4 separate regions of the Homo sapiens genome follow, and regions 1, 3 and 4 are each linked to region 2. The links are contacts of gene promoters, found by promoter capture Hi-C in human tissues and cell types (Jung and others, 2019). All regions are on one chromosome and are shown on one strand. The core of a region is centred on a gene start or on the middle of the fragment in contact, and the rest is flanking DNA. Distances in the headings are between cores, read along the strand shown.

Evidence for each region. The method cuts DNA at HindIII sites, captures the fragments that hold promoters and counts their contacts. A contact is called where the count stands out against the background at its distance.
Region 1: a fragment that was not itself captured here is called in contact with the fragment with the promoter of ZNF532 in region 2 in 5 of the 25 tissues and cell types used here (H1 embryonic stem cells, IMR-90 fibroblasts, liver and 2 more).
Region 3: a contact is called between a fragment that was not itself captured here and the fragment with the promoter of ZNF532 in region 2, in 2 of the 25 tissues and cell types used here (dorsolateral prefrontal cortex and lymphoblastoid cells).
Region 4: a fragment that was not itself captured here is called in contact with the fragment with the promoter of ZNF532 in region 2 in 2 of the 25 tissues and cell types used here (IMR-90 fibroblasts and thymus).

What each region holds. Positions count from the first base shown.
Region 1 is chr18:58,798,880-58,801,856 of GRCh38, forward strand. No RefSeq gene overlaps it. Among named protein-coding and RNA genes, the nearest start is that of LINC01926, 14 kb to the right of the region's middle. The HindIII fragment of the contact is 7,341 bases long and covers 1-2,977 here.
Region 2 is chr18:58,863,511-58,866,788 of GRCh38, forward strand. ZNF532 (zinc finger protein 532) reads left to right here and starts at 1,367. Exons shown (of 10, transcript NM_001375912.1): 1 at 1,367-1,875; 2 at 1,960-2,069. The HindIII fragment of the contact is 28,079 bases long and covers 1-3,278 here.
Region 3 is chr18:58,958,228-58,961,178 of GRCh38, forward strand. All of the region lies in intron 7 of ZNF532 (zinc finger protein 532), which reads left to right. Among named protein-coding and RNA genes, the nearest start is that of ZNF532, 95 kb to the left of the region's middle. The HindIII fragment of the contact is 4,530 bases long and covers 1-2,951 here.
Region 4 is chr18:58,936,522-58,939,850 of GRCh38, forward strand. ZNF532 (zinc finger protein 532) reads left to right here. Exons shown (of 10, transcript NM_001375912.1): 5 at 2,924-3,100. Among named protein-coding and RNA genes, the nearest start is that of ZNF532, 73 kb to the left of the region's middle. The HindIII fragment of the contact is 4,327 bases long and covers 1-3,329 here.

The sequences.
Region 1 (2,977 bases), core at 94-2,593, 65 kb before region 2:
ATTTTTTCTTCTCTAATAGGTTCACCAAACCCAAATTCTCAAAACCTGAATGTCTCACAAGTACTTTCCAAAGTCTTTTTTTTTTTTTTTGAGACAGGATCTCACTCTGTCACCCAGCCTGAAGTGCAGTGGCACATCACAGCTCACTGCAGCCTCGACCTCTCAGGCTCAAGCGATCCTCCCACCTCAGCCTCCCTAGTAGCAGGGACTATAGGAGGATGCCACCACTGCCAGCTAATTTTTTTTATTTTTGTAGAGACAAGGTTATGCCATGTTGCCCAGGCTGGTCTCGAACTCCTGGACTCAAGTGATCCCCCTTGCCTCAGCTTCCTAAAGTGCTGGGATTACGGGTGGGAGCCACTGCACCTGGCCTTCAAAGTCTTACTGTTTTGTTTCCACTACAAATAAACCCTCTTCAGACGTATGTTAGCATTTTGGGTGGCTTCACTCAGAAGGACTCTGCATTTTTCTCTGTGTGTTCACTCCTTTTACATGAGAAGCCCAAGATTTAATGGGCACCTTAGGAGGATAAGCCAGACATTGTGCAGGACAAACACTTCACACATCTCATCTACAGGACATAATCTCTACTGCCCATAATCTCTACTGCCCTTCAGTCAGCAAATATTAATTACAGAAGGGTAATAATGTTAGCAACCCAAATATGAAAACGGGCTGGGTGCAGTGGCTCACATCTGTAATCCCAGCACTTTGGGAGGGCAAGGCTGGTGGATCACTTGAGGTCAGGAGCTCGAGACCAGCCTGGCCAACATGGTGAAATACTGTCTCTACTAAAAATACAAAAATTAGCCAGTCATGGTGGTGGGCGCCTGTAGTCCCAGCTACTCAGGAGGCTGAGGCAGGAGAATCGTTTGAGCCTGGGAGGCGGAAGTTTCAGTGACCCAAGATCGCACCACTGCACTCCAGCCTGGACGAAAAAGCAAGACTCCATCTACAAAAAACAAACATGTAAATGAACAAAGCAACAGAGGAGCTCTCCGTCAACTCGCGGGGTTTAACAGAGAGCCTCACAGATGATTGCAGTCCACTAAGCCAACCAAGGGTTGGTGGGAGCATGAGGGATCTCATCATTGAAAAGAATCATTGAAAGCTTAATAGAGCTAGAGTTTATGTTGAGACTTGAAGAATAGGTAGAAATTTGCCTAGTAAATAAGGAGATGTCAGGTCGGGTGTGGTGGCTCATGCCTATAATCCCAGCACTTTGGGAGGCTGAGGCAGGCAGATTACCTGAGGTCAGGTGTTCGAGACCAGCCTAGCCAACATGATGAAACCTCGTCTCTACTAAAAATACAAAAATTAGGCCGGGCATGGTGGCTCATGCCTGTAATCCCAGCACTTTGGGAGGCCGAGGCGGGTGGATCACAAGGTCAGAAGTTCAAGACCAGCCTGGCCAACATGGTGAAACCCTGTCTTTACTAAAAATACAAAAATTAGCTAGGCCTGGTGGCACACACCTATAATCCCAGCTACTGGGGAGGCTGAGGCAGGAGAACTGCTTGAACCAGGACCCGGGAGGTGGAGGTTGCAGTGAGCCGAGATTGCACCACTGCACTCCAGCCTGGGAGACAGAGCGAGACTCCGTCTAAAAAAAAAAAAAAAGCCAGGTGTGGTGGCGCATGCCTGTAATCCCAGCTACTCGGGAGGCTGACGCAGAAGAATCATTTGAACCCAGGAAGCAGAGGTTACAGTGAGCTGAGATCACACCATTGCACTCCAGCCTGGGCAAGAAGAGCAAAACTCAGTCTCAAAAAAATAAAAATAAAAAAAAGAAAGAGGAAGAGAGAGCACAGGGTATTTAGGAGGCAGAAACAGTCCAGAGTGGCTGCAACAATTGATAGGTAGGGGAGATTCTGAATGTGAAACTAGACAGACGTTCAGGAACAGGTCATGGCAGGCCAAGAGGAGGAAGCGTCTCTGCAGACAAACATAAAGTCATGAAGTAAGGCTGAAGCAAGGGCTGAGCATACGTCCTGCACAAAGGGTCACACAGGATACCTGCCAAGGAGGGAAAGGCACCTTCAAGAACACAGTCATACCCTGTAATTGAATCAACACCAGGCCCATCTCAACTTCGCACCCACACCCAAACCCAAGATAGGTTCCACGGTACTCAGGGTAGATATGCAGGTGAATGGAAGCTAAGAAATTGATTTGTACAGTTGTAAACATTTTCTGTCACTGGATTATTTCTTTGTGATCTGAGGTCTCCAATCTTTTTTTTTTTTTTTTTTGAGAGGGAGTCTTGCTCTGTCACCCAGGCTGGAGTGCAGTGGTGTGATCTCGGCTCACTGCAAGCTCCGCCTCCCGGGTTCACGCCATTCTCCTGCCTCAGCCTCCTGAGTAGCTGGGACTACAGGCACCCACCACCACGCCCGGCCAATTTTTTGTATTTTAGTAGAGACGGGGTTTCACCGTGTTAGCCAGGATGGTGAGGTCTCCAATCTTTTGCTATGATATTTTAGGTTGGGAAAGAAGAGGGAACATGTTCTGTGAACCTAAAGGAGAGACATTGTCCTAACAAAGCAAACTGGTAAATGTAGCAACATTAGGCTGGGCAAAGTGGCTCACACCTGTAATCCTAACACTTTAGGAGGCCAAGGCAGGAAGATCGCTTAAAACCAGGAGCTAAAGACCAGCCTGGGCATGTAGCATGACCCTGTCTCTATAATTTTTTTTTTCTTTAATTAACTGGGTGTGGTGGTGCACGCCTGTAGTCCCAGCTACTCGGGAGACTGAGGTAGGATTGTTGCTTGAGCCCGGGAGGGCAAGGCTGCAGTGAGCTGTGATCATACCACTGCACTCCAGCCTGGGTGACAGGAAAAAAAAAAAAAATTAAGGGGAATGGATGTTTTTGCCATCCATTTATCAAGGTCTTTGGGATGCTAATTGGCAGGATGCAGACGGCCCCCTTCTGAGCAGTGTTTCTGGGGACCTCTCAGGCCATAGTTCAGTGAGC
Region 2 (3,278 bases), core at 117-2,616:
GCCGCCGCCGCCGCCCGGCCCGGCGGCGAGGCCGCTCCACCGCACACGCACACACAGACCCCGGCAGCGGGAACGCAGATGACACGCCCGTAACATGGAAGCCGCCGCCGCCGCCGCTCCGACGACAGCAGCAGCAGCCACAGCAGCAGCCGCCGGCGGCGCCGCGCTGAACAAAGGTCATCCGAGCTGCGGCCCAGACGCCCGGGCTTGACCGCCGCGAAGGCCAACCCCGGGAAGGGGGTGGGTGTGCGCCTCTGGGGGTGCGGGGCGGCGGGAGGCGGCCGGGGCGAACGAGGGGCGCAGGGCAGCCGGACCCAGGGGCGCGGGTGGGCGCCGGGCAGAGGCGGGGTGCGGCCCCTCGTGCCCACTCCTGCGGGCCGGGGTGAGCGCGTGAGGCTCAGGCCCCTGGGCCTGCCCGCAGTGGCCTGTCCCACCCTGGCCTTGGGGACAGCCGGCCTTCGCGCCCCGCCAGCTGGCTTGGGGGGCCGAGGAGGAACCGCCCGGGCTAGGCCCCGCAGGTTACGAGACGGGGGCCACGTGAGCGCGGCTCTCCTACTCCCCCCGCCGGCGCCGGCCGGGCACAGATGCGTTTCCAGAGGCCTCCGTGCCCCCTCTCCCACTGGCCCTGCCTTCGCCCCCCGCCCCCTCCCCAGACAGCCCCAGTTTTCTTCCCCCGAGGTGAAGGGATTTGGACTTCTCCCCCCAGGTGCTTGAAAGAAGAGAAGGTTGGAGGAGGAGGAGGAGACTGGGGGGCTGCTGGTGGTGGTGACAGGGCTGGGAGAGAGAGGAGAGGGACGGAAGGGAGGAGGGGGCTGGGTGGGGTGGGGGTGACAGCAGAGAGGAGCCTGGTCAACAAGCCAGCACCACTGTGCTAGGAGGCCAGGCCGGCTCTGCAGCCGACGCATCCCGTGTGAGCAGACACACATAGCTCGCTTTCTTGGGGGCTCTTTGTCAGCCACCAACACAGAGAGCACACACTGACACACACGTACACAAAGATCTGAGCCAGGTTGTGGGAGGTAAGTGGGGGAAGGAGAAGGAGGGGGAAACAGTGTCTGCGGTGGGCTGTGGGGTGGAGGGGAGGGGGGATGGGCCCTGAGGGGCTCTGGGGTGCTTGCGAGGTGAGCATTTCCAAGGCTGTGTGCTCGTGGGGTGGGGGGACACACGATGACCTTCTCCTCCTCAGGAAGACCTAAGAGGGAAGAGCAAACCCCAGCGAGATCCCCCCTGTGCTGATGATTTTCAGGGACTTGTTGGCAACTCAGCGAGGGTTGCCATAGCTTTTTTATGTAGGGTGACCAGAACCGGCTGAAACTGGTTTGAGGCAGATCAGCTCCTGAACACAATGCAGTCACTGAGCTACTACAGTAGGATAGCAGCTTCCTCCCTTCATGGCAGCCAAAAGCAGAGGAGCTTGCAGGAAGGTACCATCCCTACACAGTATGTGAATGCACACTTAGACACCACACAGCACTGGTACGTGACTAATGGAGCCCTAAAAGATTCTGGGTAGAGAAGATGGAAAAAAAGGTGCAGGTTTGCAGGGTCTGAGATTACTTGGGCTTTTCCTGCCTTTTTCTTTTGCTTAAGGGATGGACAAGGAGCTGAGATTTATGACCCTTATTAGAGAAAAAAATGTGCCTTGCTAGGGTGGGGACACTTGGTTGATGCAGTCTCTCTCTCTCTTTCTCGGTGTTTATAACAAAACAAAACCAAAATGAACTGAGGGGTTTGTAATGGTAGTTTGTTTGTTGCTGGAGAATGCTACTTTGCATGCTTTTTTTCTCTTGCAGGGTATGTTCTGTCTTGTGCTTTTTCTTTTAGAAGCTACTAAAGGGTGTTGGGGATGCTTCTGACTATTATGAAGGCCAAAAGGTAACAATATCGTTCTAGGAAATGAACATAAATGCATTCCAGTGATGCTGTTAGCCATACATGCTGTCTTTTTTTTCCTTGTAGGCCTGTTGACTGGGGCTGCTTTTAACCCTTTCCTATTTGCTGAGAATGCAGCCGTGTGACAGTAACTGAACATTGGTCTAAAGTCTTTCCAAAAGGTCAAGGTTCACAAGGTGAGATACGCTGTTTTGAGCATGAATTTAAATATTTATTTGCAGATCCATTTAGACACAGACGGACCGTGGATTGCTACCCAGGAGATAAAATTGGGTTCAGAGTGGAGAAGAAATGCTCTTAATGTTATCCCAGTTTAATGGGATTAGAGTGACTTTATGATGGTATTGCGATCAAGGCGAAATCTGAATGCCTTCATTAAATCGCATGTGTCTGGGCAATTGGGAGAGTCAGGCCTGGAAGGAAGCGAGTGTGGAGAATGGTAGGCGTCAGGGCCTTGTGGAGAATGTGCTGTTTTGCATAAGACGAAAGCAGTACACATGTGGCATTTTCCCGATGATTATAAGAAAAGGAAGGGCTTCACCAAATCGAGGCAGCCTAGCCACCTTTTTAGGATTTGAGGAGTCTGAAGGTAGATTTGCCTTTTGTTCATTCATCACCTTTCTTTTACCTTGCTCTCTTGTGTTAACCTGAAAGGTTTTTCACTCCGACTCAAGTGGTGGAATGTCTTTTATTGATTTTGGGGGCTGTTGACGGTGAGTTCGCCATTGGATTCTTTGTGGCATATGTTTAATGTGGAATACTAATGCAATACCAGGGGGAAGCCGGGTAGTCTGGCTTCATCTGTGAAAAGATGCCTGTTAACTCAAAGCTGTACTGGAATGGGTGGTAGAAAATGTCTGATGCCTTTAAAGATCGCAGTTAGGTTTGAGCAGGCATTTTAATGCACCTTCCAAAACCAGAGGTTGGAGAGGAGAGGAGAGAAGGAAGGAGTGAGGAGAGTAGCAAAGTGAAGAACAAAGGCTGAGGGGGCTTGCAGGAGAACACTCAACATTTTGCCTTGGGTTCCTTGTGAAAAGAACTGCAACTTCCCCAAACAGGAAACCAGCAGCTCCAGAATGGGATCCAGTGTGATCTCAACAACAGATAGAACTGGTCCTGCCTTTCTGCTGGTTTTTGGTAAAAGTACAGTCAAGAGGAGCCCATAGAAGACATGACTGAAAATAAAATTTTCCCCTACTTCGAAGTGGGCATTTTGTTCCTCTCCGTGTTCAGCAGAATAGGGGCTTTTCAGCAGTGCCGAGGATCTTGGAATTGGTTAAGTTGTGTGCTGGCAGTTGGTGGGCAGGATATCTGCAGTGAAGGACGTCAAGTATGCAAGGGTTTTATTGTTAAAATGTTTTTCATTTGGCTACAGAACATCCACT
Region 3 (2,951 bases), core at 112-2,611, 95 kb after region 2:
AAATACTTTAAAAAAATATTGACAGATATTCAGTGCATATTTATTAAAGGCGTAATCATCTTAAAACCTACAATTTGCTGAATTACTGCTTTAGCTATTTAAAAAAGAAAAACAGTTAAAGCAGCAGCATTTTAAGAAGTTCTTGTTACAAATTCTATATACAGAAAGCAGTAAAAAACTTACCAATTTCTCTTTTTAAAGTTTTTTCTCAAATGCTTATGTATTATCTAATTTTTATTGTGCTTTCTAAAGTTGGTATTATTGTTTTGTTATGGCCAAATTTTAGCTGTCCTTGTAAATGGTAAAGTCTTTGAGGGCAAGTTGTATGTCCATTTTATTATTACAGTCTTCTATGGTTTACAGCATTGTGCCTTGCAGAGTATCTCTGGAGTCCCTGATTGAAGCAGTTCTCTTTGGATTGTTACTTGCACATATGGGAAGGGGCTTTGTGTTAGTCACAGATACACACAAGTTGCAGTCTAGGTTCAGGTACCTAACTAGCTTTCTAACCACAGAAATCCCACCACCTTTGTAGTCTCTATATTCTCAACTATAAAATCAGGAGGACGGGCGTGTCAGTGTCACATTAACCTGATGATCTCATCCCAGCCGTGAGCCTTTCCTCAGATCCATGTACAAATGCACAGAGTTTTACATACAATTTTAGGTGGGTTGTGGATCTCCTGCTCTTCTTTTTTGTTGTTCTAGAAGGCCTTTTAGGAACCAAACTAAGATCCTTTGAATGAGATAATATCTGAGGTCATTCTTAGAGATCAAACATTCTGTAATTATGTGAGCCAGTATTAAAATTAAAAAGAAGTTACATGTTATATGTACCTGTTCAAATCTAGAAAATTACAACACAATCTGTGATAATTGTAATCATTCTCTCATTTGCTGCCTGGTTCTCCTACACATCAAGGAACCTTAACTTATTAATTGAAATATCCTAAAGCAGAGGCATATGTGCTGAATTACGGAACTCTGGTGCCATCAAAATGAACCTTAGATCTTTTCAGTTTTTTGTTTTTTGTTTTTTTTTGTTTTTTTTTGGTTTTTTTTTTTGACAAGGTCTCACTCTGTTGCCCAAGCTAAAGTGCAGTAGGGTAATCTTGGCTCACTGCAACCTCCGCCTCCCAGGCTTAAGCAGTCCTCCCGAGTAGCTAGGACTACAGGTGTGTACCACCACACCCAGCTAATTTTTGTGTTTTTATAGAGACGGTGTTTCACTGTGTCACCCAGTTGAACTCCTGGGCTCAAGTGACCTGTCTACCTCGGCCTCCCAAAGTGCTGGGATTATAGGCATGAGCCAGTGCACTCGGCCTCAAGATTCTTCATGATGTAGATAGATGTGGTCCAGTACTGTGTCTGTAACTTGGGAAGAGCCTGGGAGACTTGGGTATATATTCTGGCACCACAACTACCAGTGTGACTTTGTGAAAAAATAATTAACAACCACCATCTTCCAGCGTCAGCTTCAGTTTGCATAGGTCTAAAATGGAAATATTTACCACCTAAGAGTCTTTTTAAATTAAATAAAATGAAAGCATGTAGCACAATACATAATAGATGTTTTTCTCTCTATACTGTATTTCCTCTCTGAACACTATAGATTTTTTTAAAATTAAATTTTGCTAGAAAGCAGCTCACCAAAATGGAAGGTTCTGCATACAGAGACGTTATACATTTACCACTTCTAAGTAGATTTTTCTTCTTTTTTTATTTTTTTGAGATAGGGTCTCACTCTGTCACCCAAACTGGAGTGCAGTGGCACGATCTTGGCTCACTGCAACCTCCACCTCCCAGGTTCAAGCGATTCTCCTGCCTCAGCCTCCTAAGTAGCTGGGATTACAGGTGCGTGCCACCACGCCCAGCTAATTTTTGTATCTTTAGTAGAGACAGGGTTTCACCCTGTTGCCCAGGCTGGTCTTGAACTCCTGACCTCAAGTGGGATTACAGGCATGAGCCACTGCGCCTGGCCTGCTTGACTAATTTAAAAAAATTTTTTGGTAGAGATGCCTTCTGATGCCCAGGCTGGTCTTGAATTCCTGAGCTCAAGTGATCGTCTCATCTTGGCCTTCCAAAGTGTCGGGATTACAGGTGTGAGCCATTGTACTGGGCCAATTTTCCATCTTTACATGGGGTGAAAGGAGATTGCAAATATATGCATGTCATGGAGAATGAGCTGTGGCCAGATACCCTGCTTGTGTGAAAGGAGAAGGTTGGATAGATTCGGAAGATTTCAGATAAAGTCTATCTGACCTTACTTGAGCACAGCCATTTCAGAGAACAGATGGTGAAGTAGCTGGTTCCTGCCTGAGCACTGGGCAAAAGAACTAGGCGAAGACTAAGAACATGTGATTGCAGATCAATCTCCTTTTCTTTACAGAGGGACCAGTTGGTAGGTAGAATAACCCTCTAGACAGAAACTGGGTTTCAGCAAAACTGTTGACAGATTCTGTCTGTTTTGATACTGTTCTGTACAGTGTAGTGCAGGAGGGCCTGGGTGAAATATTGCATGGATAGCTGACTCATGGCTCACTGCCTTGTTGGAGAGAAAGCTTCCATCTTGGATCAGATTTTCCTCAGTCTTTCTATCAATGACTTAATTATAGGAAGAGAAGCTAGGAGGGATTTTGCAAGGCAGATCTTAAATGCAGAGCTTTTCACTTAAAAAAAAAATAAAAGTACACAGATATTATGTGAGGTAGATATGGCTTAGCTAAGTTCTATGAAAAAGTATTCTGTCTTTATTTGACTATCTTGCTATAACCCATCCTTCTTTGTGGCTGCTGATGTAGCATTCATATCAAGGAAAGCTAACACCCTTCCTTTGACTTGGCACCATAATCTAGCTGGCGGTTCCCAAGATTGGAGTGTGCGTCAGAATTAACTGGAAGGCTTGTTCAGCTAGTTGCTGGCCTCTACCCCACAGCTTCTGATTCAGCAGG
Region 4 (3,329 bases), core at 427-2,926, 73 kb after region 2:
AGTAATCAACTCACTTGGGAAAAGACCATCCTTGCTCTTCTGTTCTTTTGCCCTACTCACAGAGTTGTTCAAATTCGGTATTTCAAATTGTAGATTTCAAGTTGTTAACCAAAAATTTTGTGTTAAGTGTAGATTTTTTTCTCCCTGGACTTGAGGCTATATGGGGCTGGTAAACAACGATGTGTTGTGAAGTTTAGTTCATGTTGACTGCTCCTTTAGAAGAGAGGAGCAATTTTAAACGTAATTCTTTTCCTCTGCTGCTTCATATGAGGGTCCAGGTTCATGTTTAAGTGGGGCTTAGTAGCCCCGTGGCCTTGTCATGTTTTTTGCTCCCTTTGGCTCTATAGTTACTCATTTTCAATGTGTCTTTTCTTTAGCCAGATGAGTCTAATGTAGCAGCATGGTTCCCACGCCTTACTTTGTCTCGTCTTGGTGCAGTGTGCCTTGCTGTCTCTCCTCTTGCTCATATTACATCTCCCAAATACTGATGGGTCATCCCTGGCTCCTGGTTAACTTGGTAAAAGTTATATATTGATAAAAGTCAAATATTTTTTCTGAATTTTCCTGCCTCTTGATACACTGGACTGTATATCTAGAAAGGGGAATGGTTATAGGATTTTATACTGTAAATATTTTTTTTAATTCAAAAAATAAAGAAACTTTATTGCTATCCAGAATAGGACTTCAGGATATTACGTATTTCTTAGTAGACAGGATTTTTCATAGCATTAAGATACTGCATGAGCCGTTTGAAGTCTGCCTTTCTTTGTCTTATTTACATCCCCCATTGGCCTCTGTTGCCCCCTGAAATGCCTCTTCTTCCTGTAAGCAGATGTTTTATGACTTTTTAAAATACCCTGCTTTCGTTTCTTACATTAAGGAGGGTTTCCCTTGGTCTCCATGGTGTTCTCTGGATTGAGTCATAGCCACTTCCTCTTGCTTCAAAAAATTCCATCTTTATTTTAGATACTTCCTTTTTATTTGCTGTACATTAAACCTTCCTCTCACTCCAAGTGACTTTAGGTAATTATTGCTTTTCTCTGTATTCCTTTTTGTCCTTCCTGGTTCTTTTGCTCTTTAAACACCATCTTTCTATCCTTCATGGGAAAATCTTCTGTTTATAGTTTATGGTGTGGTAGGTCCTTCAGTTTCATTAATTACCCATCTACTTTTGTTTTACATAATCTTCCTCTTTCATGGGAGTTGTAGGCTTCTAGGTTTGGGAAGAGCTAAAAATGATCTATTTTAATTCTTCTCATTTTACAAATGAGTAACTGGCCCAGAGAGGAGCATTAACCTGTTCAAGACAACTCAGTAAGTTAACCCAAAATAGTTTCAATATGCTTAGGTGGCTCTATTGCCTGAAATACCAGTTCAAGTAGATAGGCTAGAGAGGCTGTCCTTTTATTCTCTATTGTTATTTAGTGTTTAAACATAGCTGTTGCTGAACATAATGCCTTCAGTCACTGGAAATGCTAATGCGTTAGTTATGATTTTAACAGAATGCTTGCAAAGCTTAAATAGAATGCATACAATCCAGAACATGCCACTCCTGTGTAACTTCGGAAGCATCTCCATGATTCAGAAGGGAGGTTCTAAGAATAGAAGCATCTTAGATTGTCATAGAAGTCTTTGGACACTGCCCCCCGGAAACCAGGCCCTGTCTGCAGTCTTCCTTCCCTGGGTAGCTCACATCTGGGAGCACATATGTTCAGTTGTATTAGAGGTAAATTTCTGGAGACTTTTGTACCTGCAGAGAGACCACTCTTAAATAGTTTTCAGGTGTGAACAAGGAAGACTTGGTCATCAAGTGGAGGTGTAAGTGTTGCTTAGAGTCTTTGTGTGAAAAAGATGAGATAGAGGAGAAATGTATCTTAGATTTAAAGTTTGTCTTTGTTGGATTATATTTGAGCAGGGAATGAGCTAATTGTGAGATTACTAGAAATTCATAAAGTAAGGAGGTTAGCTAGACAATTTTTTTTAGAGATGCTGAATTTTCAGAGGTTTGTAATTCATGCAATTTCTTAAACAAATGCAAGTGTACTTAAATTTATTTTCTAGGAGACAAAACACCTAGGTGGTTGACCTTCTCTATCCTGTGGACCACCATGAACCCCACATACATTGACCACATCAGTGTGTACCAGGAAACAGTGGGCCGAGGCCTTGGAGCCAGAACTTCTTTGTTCCTCTCTGCCCCTCTGTTCTTGGCATGCAGGTTTAGACACTGAAGATTTCTTCCATTAGAAATGCTATTTGGGTCCTGGAGATGGGTAGGAAACTCAGGGCCCTGGTGCCAGAATCCAGCATATGTAACCTCTCCAAAAACAGTGGTCTGGAGATTTGACATCCATTCTTAAAAATGTTAAAGATGCTCCAAAAATAGACCATTTGAGTTTTATTTTTCTTCTTCATGATCTTTTCTCTTAAACATATAAAAATAGGCTGGGCATGGTGGTTTACACCTATAATCCCAGCATTTTGGGAAGCTGAGGTGGGCGAATCACTTGAGGCTAGGAGTTTGAGACCAGCTTGGCCAACATGGCGAAACCCCATCTCTACTAAAAATACAAAAAGTAATTGGGCATGGTGGTACACACCTGTAATCCCAGCTACTTGGGAGGCTGAGGCACGAGAATTGCTTGAACCTGGGAGGTGGAGGTTGCAATGAGCCGGGATCACACCACTGCACTCCAGCCTGGGCGACAGAGCGAGACGTTGTCTCAAAAAAAAAAAAAAAAAAAAAAAAAAAAACCCATAAACAATTAAGTTGATTTATAATAGGAAAAAAACTAAAATATACTTCCGAAGGGCCATTAAAAACCTAAAAGGGCTATGAAAGTGTGTTCATCTCACCCAGTTTTTGCAGTTACACGTGTGTTATGGTCTTGTGCTAATGACCGTGTGTTTATTTTTCTAACAGATGTGTGCATTGCAATGTTGTGTACTCTGATGTGGCTGCTCTGAAGTCTCACATTCAAGGTTCTCACTGTGAAGTCTTCTACAAGTGTCCTATTTGTCCAATGGCGTTTAAGTCTGCCCCAAGCACACATTCCCACGCCTACACACAGCATCCTGGCATCAAGATAGGAGAACCAAAGTAAGTCATACCGACTTTCAAGTTTTACTCCACTGCTTTATTAGCAATTTAGAAGCAAGGTAGTAGTCGTTCTATTGAATAACATTTACCAAGATCTGAAAAATTATGCAGCTATGCCAATTTTGATGCTTTATGAAATACAGCTCATAGCTCATCCAAATCTTTCTGTTCTTTCCAGGTAAAGACCTTGTCCAAAAACGTTACCTATTATTTATGCTCTTGTCACGAA